Linked DNA regions of Homo sapiens: region 2 is linked to region 1. Evidence: promoter capture Hi-C in 16 types of primary human blood cells and fetal thymus (Javierre and others, 2016). All regions are on one chromosome and are shown on one strand. The core of a region is centred on a gene start or on the middle of the fragment in contact, and the rest is flanking DNA. Distances in the headings are between cores, read along the strand shown. Region 1 holds the start of FADS3 (fatty acid desaturase 3). Region 2 has its middle 3.9 kb from the start of LINC02733.

Region 1 (5,902 bases), core at 1,198-3,697:
CTACCTCAGCCTCCTAAGTAGCTGGGACTACAGGCGCACGCACCACCATGCCCTGCTAGTTTTTTTTTTTTTTTTTTTGTAGAAATAGGGTTTTGTCATGTTGCCCAGGCTGGTCTCGAACCCCTAGGCTCAAGAGATCCTCCCAAAGTGCTGGGATTACAGGCGTGAACCACCATGCCTGGCATGATTTTTTCATTTATGTATTTATTTATTAAAGACGGGGTTCCTGCTATGTTGCCGAGGCTGGTCTTGAACTCCAGGGCTCAAGCAATCCTCCTGCCTCGGCCTCCCAAAGTGGTGGGATTCCAGGCCTTTTTCTTTTTTATAGGAGCCCTCCTAACAAGTGTGAGACAGTATTTCATTGTGGTTTCATTTGCAGCTCTCTGATGATTAGCAATGCTGAGCACCTTTTCGTGTGTGTGTTGCCCATTTGTGTGCAGCCCCTCTTTCCTGAGGAGCATTCTGAGGAGCTCCGCCTGGCCTCCACAGTGATCCCTTCGAGGAGGACTTGGCCAATAGGGCTGTGATCCCTGCCCTCACTCACGGCTCTTGCATGATTCTGTGGCCCCCCCTTCATCTTCCCCATCTCTTCTGGGGGCAGCTGGGGAAAGTGGAGGTTCTAACCTATCACAACCCCCAACCACCTCACACACAGGGGCTGAGACCAGGCCAGGGCTGGCTCCAAGGAAGAAGCCCCTAGGATGGCCACATCTGACCACTCAGGGCTGCTGAAGGTGGGGCCAGGGCCAGGTCCATGCCTTCAGTGGATTTTGGTGCAGGGGATGCATTCCTTCAAGAATCTGCCTTCTCCATTCCTGTGCTGTGTGAACATGGTACGGGGTAGGGGTGCCTGCAGCCCCCTTGGGCCAGGGCCACCAGCCATGCTCTTGCACCCCCACACACATGTGCCAGGTTGGGGTTCCAGGATATGGTCAGTGGGTGCCTCAGTGGAGAGGGCCCAGGCAGCCCCGGTGCCTGATGACATCATGGGCCTTGCTGGATGTCCTGACAAGCAAAGGCAGGAGCTCCTGGTACCAGGGAGAACTCGCCCCCTCTGCCCTTCTGGGGATACTGGTCCTCTTTAGACCAAGACAAAATATTAGCATATCAGAGAAATATACTTAGGGTTTTCTAAGTGCATTTCCCCAACCAGCCGGTCAGCATCACCTGTGAACTGGCCATGTAAGTCTCTGCCTCCACACCAGACCCACCGAATAACCCTCCTGGGTGGTTCTGATGGAAGCCTTTCAGGTGGTTCTGATGGAAGATTGACGACCAGCGCTCTGGAAGTAACTTTAGCCTGATTTGAATTCCTTGCTGCTGTGAACGCTTAACTTTTAGGAACAGGTATATTTATCACAAAGAAATCCGAAGCAATTAGGGGAGCTACCTACACTTTCAAAAGGACTTGAATGTATTTAAATTAAAAAAAGCGGATGGGGCCCGGGTGCAGTGGCTCATGCCTGTAATCCCAGCATTTTGGGAGGCGGGAGGGTCACTTGAGTCCAGGAGTTCAAGACCAGCCTGGGCAACATGGCAAGACCCATTTCTACAAAAATAAAATAACACCAAAAATTAGCCGGGTATGATGGGGCGCGCCTGTAGTCCCAGCTGGGGACTCCCGAGACTGAGGTGGGGGTATCTCCTGAGCTTAGGATGTTGAGGCTGCAGTGAGCCGACATCATGCCACTACACTGCAGCCTGGGCGACAGAGTGAGACTCCTGTCTCAAAACAAAAAAGAGGGGCGGGGAAGCAGTAACAAGCACAGGTGTCCTCAGCCCATGGATGGCAGCGCCCGCCTCCACGCGCCAGTGCCCTCCTGCTCCCCTACCTCCCCCTTGGCCACCCCTGGGCATCCCCAGCCCTGCAGCGCCGAGGGCGGAGGGGAGGCCACCCGCCCCCAGCAGAGGGCTCCGAGAGAGCTGCAGCGGCGGTGGGGGCCCCGCAGAGATTGGGGCCCATGGTTTGAAGGCTGTTCACAGGCACCCCGAGACAGCGTCCCCCCTCTGGGCGCACTGGATTTGACGTTGCAGGACGCGCGGCTGGAAGCCCCCCAGGCCCCGCTGCTCACAGACCGGGACTCCGCCTCCGGTTCCCGAGGGCGTGGCGAGGCGCTGCGGGACGCCCAACAGGTGCGTGTTGTGTCCCCAGGCCCCGCGCTCCGGGTGGAGTCAAGAACCTGGAAGCCGGCAGCCCGGGAAAAGGGGGCGGGACGGTGCCCCGGGGCAGGGCTGGGTGGCGGCCGCTGTCCTCCCGGGAGGGGCGGGCCGCCTCGACGCCGCCCTCCCTGGCGGCCAATGGAGACCGAGGCCCCGCGCCTGGATTGGAGCGGACGCGGGGGGTCAGCCAGCCTTGGGGGCCGGGGCCTGGCCGGGGGCGGGGGGGCAGGCGAGGCGAGGCGGGCGCCGTCCGCGCGGTTATAAGGCGGGGAGTTCCCTGCGCCGCGAGCCGGGAGGCGCACGCTCGCTCGTACGGCGGCCGCGGCGGCAGGGCGGGGCCGGAGCAGCGGGCGGCGGCGGAGGCGGCGCCCGGGAGCGCTCTTCGCTTCCCTCGGGGTCTTGCTCGGACCTCGGCCACCGCCTGGGATCCCCAGGACTCGTGCGTGCAGCATGGGCGGCGTCGGGGAGCCGGGACCGCGGGAGGGACCCGCGCAGCCGGGGGCGCCGCTGCCCACCTTCTGCTGGGAGCAGATCCGCGCGCACGACCAGCCCGGCGACAAGTGGCTGGTCATCGAGCGCCGCGTCTACGACATCAGCCGCTGGGCACAGCGGCACCCAGGGGGCAGCCGCCTCATCGGCCACCACGGCGCTGAGGACGCCACGGTAAGGAAGCCATAAGGAAGCCACCCACCGGCGGGTGGAGCCTGGAGCTCGGTCGTGGGCGTGATGTCCCGCTCCACCTGTGGGGCCTTAGCATCCTCCCTCCCCTCGCTGACCTTTGACCTCCACGCCGGGACCCAGAGTTGGGGTGGACTAGCCAGGGCCAGATGTGGGGTAGGGAGGGCAGTTCCCTGCGTGGAGGACCCGCAGCTGTCCACGGAGCAGGTCTGCGGGGGAGGAGGGGGCCTCAGAGGTGGGTGTGTCATGCTGCAGAGCCTGCCCTGGGTGAGGGGCTGCCCTGTTGCTCCCAGGTCCCTGTTTCAGTTCTGGGTCCCCATGCTGGGTGCTTGCTGAGTGCTAGGGGTAGGGCAGGGCAGGGTCCCCAGGGGCCGGTAAGGACATGCCATTAGAGGCTGGGGGCTGGGCCGGCCTGAGGTCTGTGGCTTTCCCAAGAGCTTCTGTAAAGGGCTCAGGGACAGTGACTCACCTCTCCGGGCTAGCAGCTGCACGTGGGAGGGCTTTGCCAGCCAGGCTGGGTGGGCCTCTCCTGGAAGCACAGTCACCCCAGGAACAGGCTGGCCCCTGGGGACCCCAACTTCCCAATCCCAGCCCCTGTCTAGACAGGCAGGGATGTAGCCTGGCCCCAGGGTACTGTCTGGCTGGAGTCCAGTGGTGGAGCAGCCCGACCAGCCCCTTTTCCTTAGTTACCCACCTGCATAATAGGGGTTGGGGCCACGATGCCCTGTCCTTGACCCTCCAAATTTCTAGGTTGGCCACACTGGGTATCAGGAAGGTCTTCAAGACCCGAGGACATGAATCCTGAATGCTGGCTTTTTGGGCAGCAGCGGAGGTTCTGTCCAGTCCCAGGACTGTCGGCGTCCCTCTTGACAGGGCCACCTGCTCTCTGCCGATTGCCATCTCCAGCATGTTGGACAATCTTCACTGGACTCTTTGAGGAAGAAAGCCCCTCTTTTCCCCTTCCACCCCATGAAGCTGAGGAGTGAGAATAAGAATCCTCCTGAAATTCTAAAAAAAGAAAAAAAAAAAAAAGAGAACGCCTTGTCCGTGGCTGTTCAGGCGCCAGACGCTGGCCCGAGGGGACAGCACAGCCGTGGGATGAAGCAGCCTGGGGGCAGTATTTGAGCGTGCAGGTGTTTGCATGTCTGGGTGAGTGTGGTGTGTGTGCCTGCCTTTCTGCCAGGGCGTGGCGAGGTGAGGGGCACGGCTTCTCCCCAAAGGCCTTGCTGAGCCCTGGCCTCCCTTCAAGGAGTCTTGTGGATGCCTGCTCTGGTCTTTTTCTAAAAAAGTATCTATTTTATTTATTATTATTTGTTTAAAAATAGAGACAGGGTCTCACTATGTTGCTCGGGCTGGTCTCAAAGTCCTGGGTTCAAGCATTCCTCCTGCCTCAGCCTCCGAAAGTTCTGGGATTACAGGCATGAGCCACCACTCCCGGCCTGCTCTAGTCTTTTGTAACCTAGAGGACAGTATGGATACAGAAAACTTTACTCCCCACCAACCGCCGGAGACAGAGTCTTGCTCTGCCACCCAGACTGGAGTGCAATGGCGCCATCTTGGCTCACTGCAACCTCCGCCTCCCAGGTTCAAGCGATTCTCCTGCCTCAGCCTCCCGAGTAGCTGGGATTACGGGCACGCGCCACCACGCCCAGCATATTGTATTTTTAGTAGAGACGGGGTTTCACCATGTTGGCCAAGCTGGTCTCGAACTCCTGACCTCGTGATCCACCCACCTCGGCCTCCCAAAGCGCTGGGATTACAGGCGTGAGCCACCACGCCCGGCTGGGATACAGAAAGCTTTTATTTCATCACTGTTTCCTGCCTGGTGCCAGGCCCATGCTGGGGTTCCTCCCAAGTGGAATTACTGACTTAACATTTAGCTTGGGATCCTGAGACTTCCATCACACAGTTTTCTCATTGATTCGCAGCCAATAATATCTGTTTTAAAAACATCTCAGGCCGAGCGCTGTGGCTCACACCTGTAATCCCAGCACTTTGGGAGGCTGAGGTGGGCAGATCACCTGAGGTCGGGAGTTTGAGACCAGCCTGACCAACATGGAGAAACCCTGTCTCTTCTAAAAAAATACAAAATTAGCCAGGCGTGGTGGCGCATGCCTGTAATCCCAGCACTTTGGGAGGCTGAGGCAGGAGAATCGCTTGAACCCAGGAGACGGAGGTTCCGGTGAGCCGAGATCGCGCCATTGCACTCCAGCCTGGGCAACAAGAGCAAAACTCCGTCTCAAACAAACAAACAAAAAACATCTCTCTGCTCCTTGGGGCCGGGTGCCAGCTCTGCTATTGGAGGCACTGAGCGACCTTGAAGCAGGCATGTCACTCCTCTGTGCCCCAGTTTACTCATCTGTAAAGTGGGAGAGCTGGGGCAGACAGTGAGCTGGCTGAGGGCAGGACTGTGTCTCCTCAAGCCCATGGCCCAGGGCTGCCAGGTAGTAGTTTGTATTCGGTAAATGCTGCTGGCCCCTAAGTGTGAGCGTGCCCTGCAAACTGCAGCGTATGGTGGGACAGCCCTGCACGGCTACCCCTTTCCTGGGTGACCTTATTTGGTTACGGTCCTATCTGAAGTAGGAAAGGGACACTTTAGGCTGTCTCTTAGCTCCCTCAAGGCCCCACAGCCTGGACTAGAGTTGCCAGAAATACTTGGTCCATTCAGGCCAAAGGGACTGTGAGGTTGCTGGGATGGTGCAATCAGTCTTTGTCCATGATGAACCCACAGGGTAGACCAGGGGTTGGGCCAGCCCAGTGCCCTGTGTAGTTGAGCCCAGGCCCCAGGCATCCCATCCCGGGCGGTGGCCTCAGGTGGAGGTGGGGCAGCCAGTTGCCAGGGATGTGTTCCAGCGGTCACCTCTCACCAGCCCCGGCTGCCCATCAGCTGTTCTCAAGTCCAGGCAATGAAGCCTTCCTGCCAGGAAATTCCCAGAGTTTCTGTGCCATGAAGTCAGCCTGTGGCCATCTTGGGACACAAGGCCGGGTGCCCTGGGGAGAGTACTCTGGGCCCTTGGCCAGGTTTGTCTGAGAGTCATAGGCAGCCTGATACTAGTGGAGCCAG
Region 2 (5,902 bases), core at 1,847-4,346, 190 kb before region 1:
TGTCCTTTTTAGACCCAGGAGTCAAAGCCCTGTAACTCAATGTCACGAGTATGTTAAAAGCACATACAGAAAGATACACAGATGTAATAACCTTAATTAAAAAAATTTGTAATCACAGATTTTCCTAAGCAAGCCAAAACTTAATAATAATGCCACAGGAATAATTTTGATAAAATGTAAAATCTGTTAGACTAGTTACCAAAAGGCAAAAGAAAAGACCTTCTGCAGTGTACAGAATATTATATTGGAAGAAAACATTTCCTTTCAATCTTTAAGAAAATATTATTAGCATCAGGCCACAACAAACAGAATTTGAGGGAAAAAAAAAACTTCTATGAGCTGAAAATGAGTTGAAGGAGAACATTATTATTTCATGTCTTTTAAAAGGGGAGAGAAAACCGAAAATGGCAAGATGCAATAAAAGTTGAAATTGGGGTTAAAAAAATTAAAATATCTTATTATTTATTATGAGTAAATAAATCCTGTAAGGAAACTTTGTTGTTCTAATCAATTCTTTAGTGTACACATGTTTTTCTTACATCAAACCCAATCTCTAGAAAAACCAGTATAATTTCCCTTTAATTATAGACAAGTTGATCATGTAAAAGTTTTTTTAAAAATAAATCCTTTTATTGTGACTTACACAGACCATTCATGACATGCTTGGACTTTCTGGTTTGTCCCAAACATTCCTCTTTCTTAAACAACTAGTCATTTTATTCTAGGTCTAAATTTACCATACAAGATTCTTTCTTATATAAAATTATTTCTCTTTAAGCTTTCTTACCCCCCCAAAAAAACCCTCTTTATTTCTATAACTTTCTTTATATCTCTCTTATTTCCTGGTTCCTTTTACCTTGTTTTATACATAACCTTTAAATAAGCTTTGAATTTGACAAAATTTGTTCACCTTTTTAAAAAGGACACTTTTCTTAAGAAACAATTTTTTCATACAATATATATTTTTATTTGAAAATACCCAAATAATGAAATATCTACTATTTAATTTAACTCTAGATTCTAAATTATGACCAGTTTGTCTACAAGTATTTATCTCATTACATTTACCTAGTTATTTTATTTTGTTTACCTAGATTATTTATGAAAACTGTGATAGTCATCATTTAAAGCTATGAAACTTGCCACTGCAAAATTCTAACTGAGACAATGAAAAAGATATGACCTAACTGACTCCATCTTGCTTCTAACCTCCAAGCTGTCCTTGTTCATTCCTGAATTTTGGGAGGAACTTAATTTATAGTTTAGCATTGAAACAAAGACAATAGCAGTCCTTTCCCAAAACAAACCTCCTTACTGCCTGTAGACTAGACTGCCTAAAGCCACAAGATTAGAAGTTATGGTAATTTTACTAAGTAATTCCAGATGTAGCTATTTTTGTTAAACAATATCAATGTCTTGTTTATTAAAGATCGGCAAGCAAGAATCATTCTGTTTTGGGCTGGGTTTATGGTTTTGTAACCCCTGTGCCAAATTTTGACACCTTATAGTATTTGGCTAGGATAAGTATGAAATTGCTAGATTAATAAATGCAAATAAAATGTATGCTGGAAATTCTTAAGACATTTCTAATATTATTTTACCAATAATTTTAAAGCTAGCTTACTTATTAAAGATTTTACTTAAGTCATGTAAACTTGAAAAATAATTTGACTAGTTTTTCCTTTTTCTGATAAAGTATTTTATTTCAATGCTTTTATTTTTCTTTAAGCCAATTAATTAGACCTCTTTTATATATTTTTGGTAGTGAAACATTGTGTATACAACACATAAATACATAGATGTATTAGGAATGCCAATAGAAATACATCTTATAGGTTGGGTGCAGTGGCTCACGCCTATAATCCCAGCACTTTGGGAGGCTAACATGGGTGGATCACCTGAGATCAGGAGCTTGAGACCAGCCTGACCAACATGGTGAAACCCCACCTCTACTAAAAATACAAAAAATTAGCCGGGCATGGTTGTGGGCTCTTGTAATCCCAGCTACTCAGGAGGCTGAGGCAGGAGAACTGTTTGAACCTGGGGGATGGAGGTTGCAGTGAGCCAAGATCGTGCCACTGCATTCCAGCCTGGGCAACAGAGAGAGACTCTGTCTCAAAAAAAAAAAAAAAAAAAAAAGGCCAGGCGCAGTGGCTCATGCTTGTAATCCCAGCACTTTGGGAGGCTGAGGTGGGCAGATCACGAGGTCAGGAGTTTGAGACCAGTCTGGCCAACATAGTGGAACCCTGTCTCTACTAAAAATAAAAAAAATTATCTGGGTGTGGTGGCGGGCACCTGTAATCCCAGCTACTTGGGAGGCTGAGGCAGGAGAATCGTTTGAAGCTGGGAGCGGAGGTTGTAGTAAGCCATGATTGCGCCACTGCACTCCAGGCCAGTGGACAGTGCGAGACTCCATCTCAAAAAAAAAAAAAAAAAAAAAAAAAAGAATTACATCTTATAGACTTAATAAACACACCTTTTTTTTTTTTTCCTATCTTAGACTTTCAGATACTTGATAACCTGTTTCACAACACTAGGCAGTTGTCAGTTAAATAGCCTTAAATGTGCATATTAAAGGAAAGAACTCAGCTGAAAATCAAATAGAAAAATTTACATCATAAGGTACAGAGAGTAAAAGTCTGGTGGTGCTAGAGGAAGATTAAAGATGGATGCCAAATTGAACATAAAATTATAGAAATCTATCATAGGATTGTATAAGGGGATCAATTTTATTTAGATAGGGCCTACTTATCTTTTAACTGGATCTCTGAGCTCTGGGAAAGCCCACGTTGAATCTTGGGTCTCCAAAAAGGGAGAATTATTATGAGGTTAGACCATGTGATGCTTTTACTGTACACTTAAAAAACATTTTTTTTCGACAAAGACATTTCCAAGTGTCTAAACCACACTTTTCCTCAAAAACCCAAAAGTAAGGCCAGGCACAGTTCCTCATGCCTACAATCCCAGCACTTTGGGAGGCCGAGATGGGTGAATTGCTTGAGCCCAGGAATTCAAGACCAGCCTGGGCATTAGAGTGAGACTGCATCCCTACCAAAAAAAAAAAAAAGAATTAAATAAAATAAAAAGAAGGGATGCAGGCCTGATAACACCTTGGTTTTTAGCTCATAAAGACCCATTTTGGACCTCTGACCCCAGAACTATAAGATAATAAATGTGTGGGGTGGTTTTGGTTTTTGGAATTTTTTTCTTTTTCTTCTTTCTTTCTTTATTTTTTAGAGACAAGGTCTCACTGTGTTGCCAGGCTGGTCTCAAACTCCTGAGCTCAAGCAATTTTCTCACCTCGGCCCCCCAAAGTGCTGGGATTACAGGCATGCACCACTGAGCCCAGCCTTGTGTTGTTTTAAACCACGAAATTTGTGGTAATTTGTTTCAACAACCATAGGAAATTATTTCACCCACCCTGCTTGTTTGTTTTCTCTTTCTGCTGTCTGAAGTTTCTCCCTTTCAGTTTTAGAGCTGAGAAGATCTATCAAACATGAATTTGGCCACAAGCTGACTCTTTCTCTAGGGGTAAATCTTGACCATTTACTAAAATGGGGAAAACAGATCAGTAATGACAGGAGTGAAGAGAAGGCTAGCTAGTGTATGTCCAGTGCTTTGTAAAGTTGCAAGGCTTTTTTCCTAAACCACACATATCCCACATATACACCTAAAAACCTAACACTACAAGGCCATACATGAATTGCCAGAATTATACAGACCTTTTCTGAAATGGTTATAACCTGAATGGTATAAGCATTGGACAAAAACACGTTGAAATCTGAGATCTCTGCAGTTGTATCCCCACAATATTTGAAGAAATAATTTATTGCCAGGCATGATGGCTCACGCCTGTAATCCCAACACTTTGCGAGGCCAAGGCGGGCGGATCACGAGGTCAGGAGTTCGAGATCAGCCTGGCCAATATGGTGAAACCCCGTCTCTACTAAAAATACAAAAATTAGCCAGGCATGGTAGTGGGAGCCTGTAATCCCAGCTACCTGGGAGGCTGAGGCAGGAGAATTGCTTGAACCCGGGAGGCGGAGGTTGCAGTGAGCCGAGATCACGTCACTGCACTCCAGCCTAGGTGACAGAGTGAGACTCCATCTCAAAAAATAAATAAATAAATAAATAAATAAATAAATAAATAAATAAAATAAATATGATTGGGTACGATCTAACACTAACAGGCTGAATGGGGAAACCCAACAAGGCCCATCTGATCAGATTCTTCTTGGTCTCTCTGTGCAGCATTCCTTCCAGGGAATAGGGCAGGACCTGTCTGAAATGAGGGTATTGTGACCTACAATCAAAGTAGGCCAGAGAATTTCCTCATGACCAGCTCCTAGACAGAAAGATAGGAAAAGAAGCAGGTAAAAGGTGGGGAGAAAAAAGGAGCAGGTAAAAGGTGGGCAGGAGAAGGTCAGAGAGAGAGAGAGAGATTCTGTTTCCTGAAGCCTGCTTGTGAGAACTAAAGTGCCCTAACATTATAACAGAAACTGTAATAACAAGAGCTATGGGAGTTATAAGCCAAGAATCATGGGTGAAAACATTTTATATATATATATATGAAAGACATATATATGTTTATAACACATATGTATATGAAATGCATACATATATGAGACACACATATATGTTTTTTCATCCATGGTTCTTGGTTTTATATAAATATCACAACATGTATTTTCAAAAGTGTGAAGCAATTGAAATTCTCCTACTTGAGGACCATAAATAGTTTAATCACTTTATTTTATTTATTTATTTATTTATTTATTTTAGACAGAGTCTCGCTTTGTTGCCCAGGCTGGAGTGCAACAGTGCAATCTCTACTCACTGCAACCTCTGCCTCCCAAGTTCAAGCAATTCTCGTGCCTCAGCCTCCCAAGTAACTGGGATTACAGGCGCCTGCCACCACGCCTGGCTAATTTTTGTATTTTTAGTAGAGACGGGGTTTCACCATGTTGGCCAGGCTGGTCTCAAACTCCAGACCCCAGGTGATCTGCTTATCTTGGCCTCCCAAAGTGCAGGCATTACAGGCGTGAGCCACTGCGCCCGGCCTAGTTTAATCACTTTAGAGAGCACCAGCAACATCCAGTATAGCTGACAATGCGAATAATACACACCCCAGCAACTCTACTCTTGGTCTGACCTTAAAGCAAAGATTCTCAGCCCTGGCTCCATGTTAAAAAACGCCTGGGAGAGTTTTGTTTTTATTTTTTAAATCTGATGTCTCAGGTCCACACTCAGAAATTTTGATTTCATCTGTTCTGTGATGAGGCCCAGAAATGGTCTTTTAAAAGCTTCCTCGGAGCTTTTAAATGTGTACCCTGCCCAAGAGAAAGTCACCCATACAGATAAAGAAGCATTCACCTTGCACCAACTACATAAATAAAATCAAGGGGATTTAAGCATCTAAATGTAAAAAGCAAATTTTTAAAATAATTTTCAAAATTAAATGACTATCTTATGACTTTGGAATACAAAAAGATATCATAAAGACCAGGCACAGTGGCTCACACCTGTAATCCCAGCACTTTGGGAGGCCAAGGCTGGAGGACTGCTTGAGCTCAGCTATTTGAGACCAGCCTGGGCAACACAAAGACCCTGTCTCTATTTTTCTATTATTTTAATGAATTTAAAAAAAAAAGTCCAGGCGCAGTGGCTCACCCCTGTAATCCCAGCACTTCGACGGGCAGATCACCTTAGTTAAGTGAGAGATGGCGAAACCCCATCTCTAGTAAAAATACAAAAAATTAGCCAGGCATGGTGGCAGGCACCTGTAATCCCAGCTACTCGGGAGGCTGAGGCAGGAGAATCGCTTGAACCTGGGAGGTGGAGGTTGCAGTGAGCAGAGATTGTGCCATTGCATTCCAGCCTGGGCAACAGTACAACCTGTGTC

What was found. Contacts are between HindIII fragments. The CHiCAGO score rates a contact against its expected background, and 5 or more counts as called.
Region 2: a contact is called between a fragment that was not itself captured here and the fragment with the promoter of FADS3 in region 1, in 17 of 17 cell types (neutrophils, erythroblasts, naive CD8 T cells and 14 more). The highest score is 23.2, in neutrophils.

Annotation. Positions count from the first base shown.
Region 1 is chr11:61,888,090-61,893,991 of GRCh38, reverse strand. FADS3 (fatty acid desaturase 3) reads left to right here and starts at 2,447. Exons shown (of 12, transcript NM_021727.5): 1 at 2,447-2,823. The coding sequence starts at 2,611. RefSeq lists silencers at 1,739-2,548, 2,649-2,778 and enhancers at 2,979-3,148, 2,738-3,426, 3,427-4,116, 5,718-5,902. The HindIII fragment of the contact is 11,072 bases long and covers 1-4,637 here.
Region 2 is chr11:62,083,234-62,089,135 of GRCh38, reverse strand. No RefSeq gene overlaps it. Among named protein-coding and RNA genes, the nearest start is that of LINC02733, 3.9 kb to the right of the region's middle. The HindIII fragment of the contact is 4,419 bases long and covers 887-5,305 here.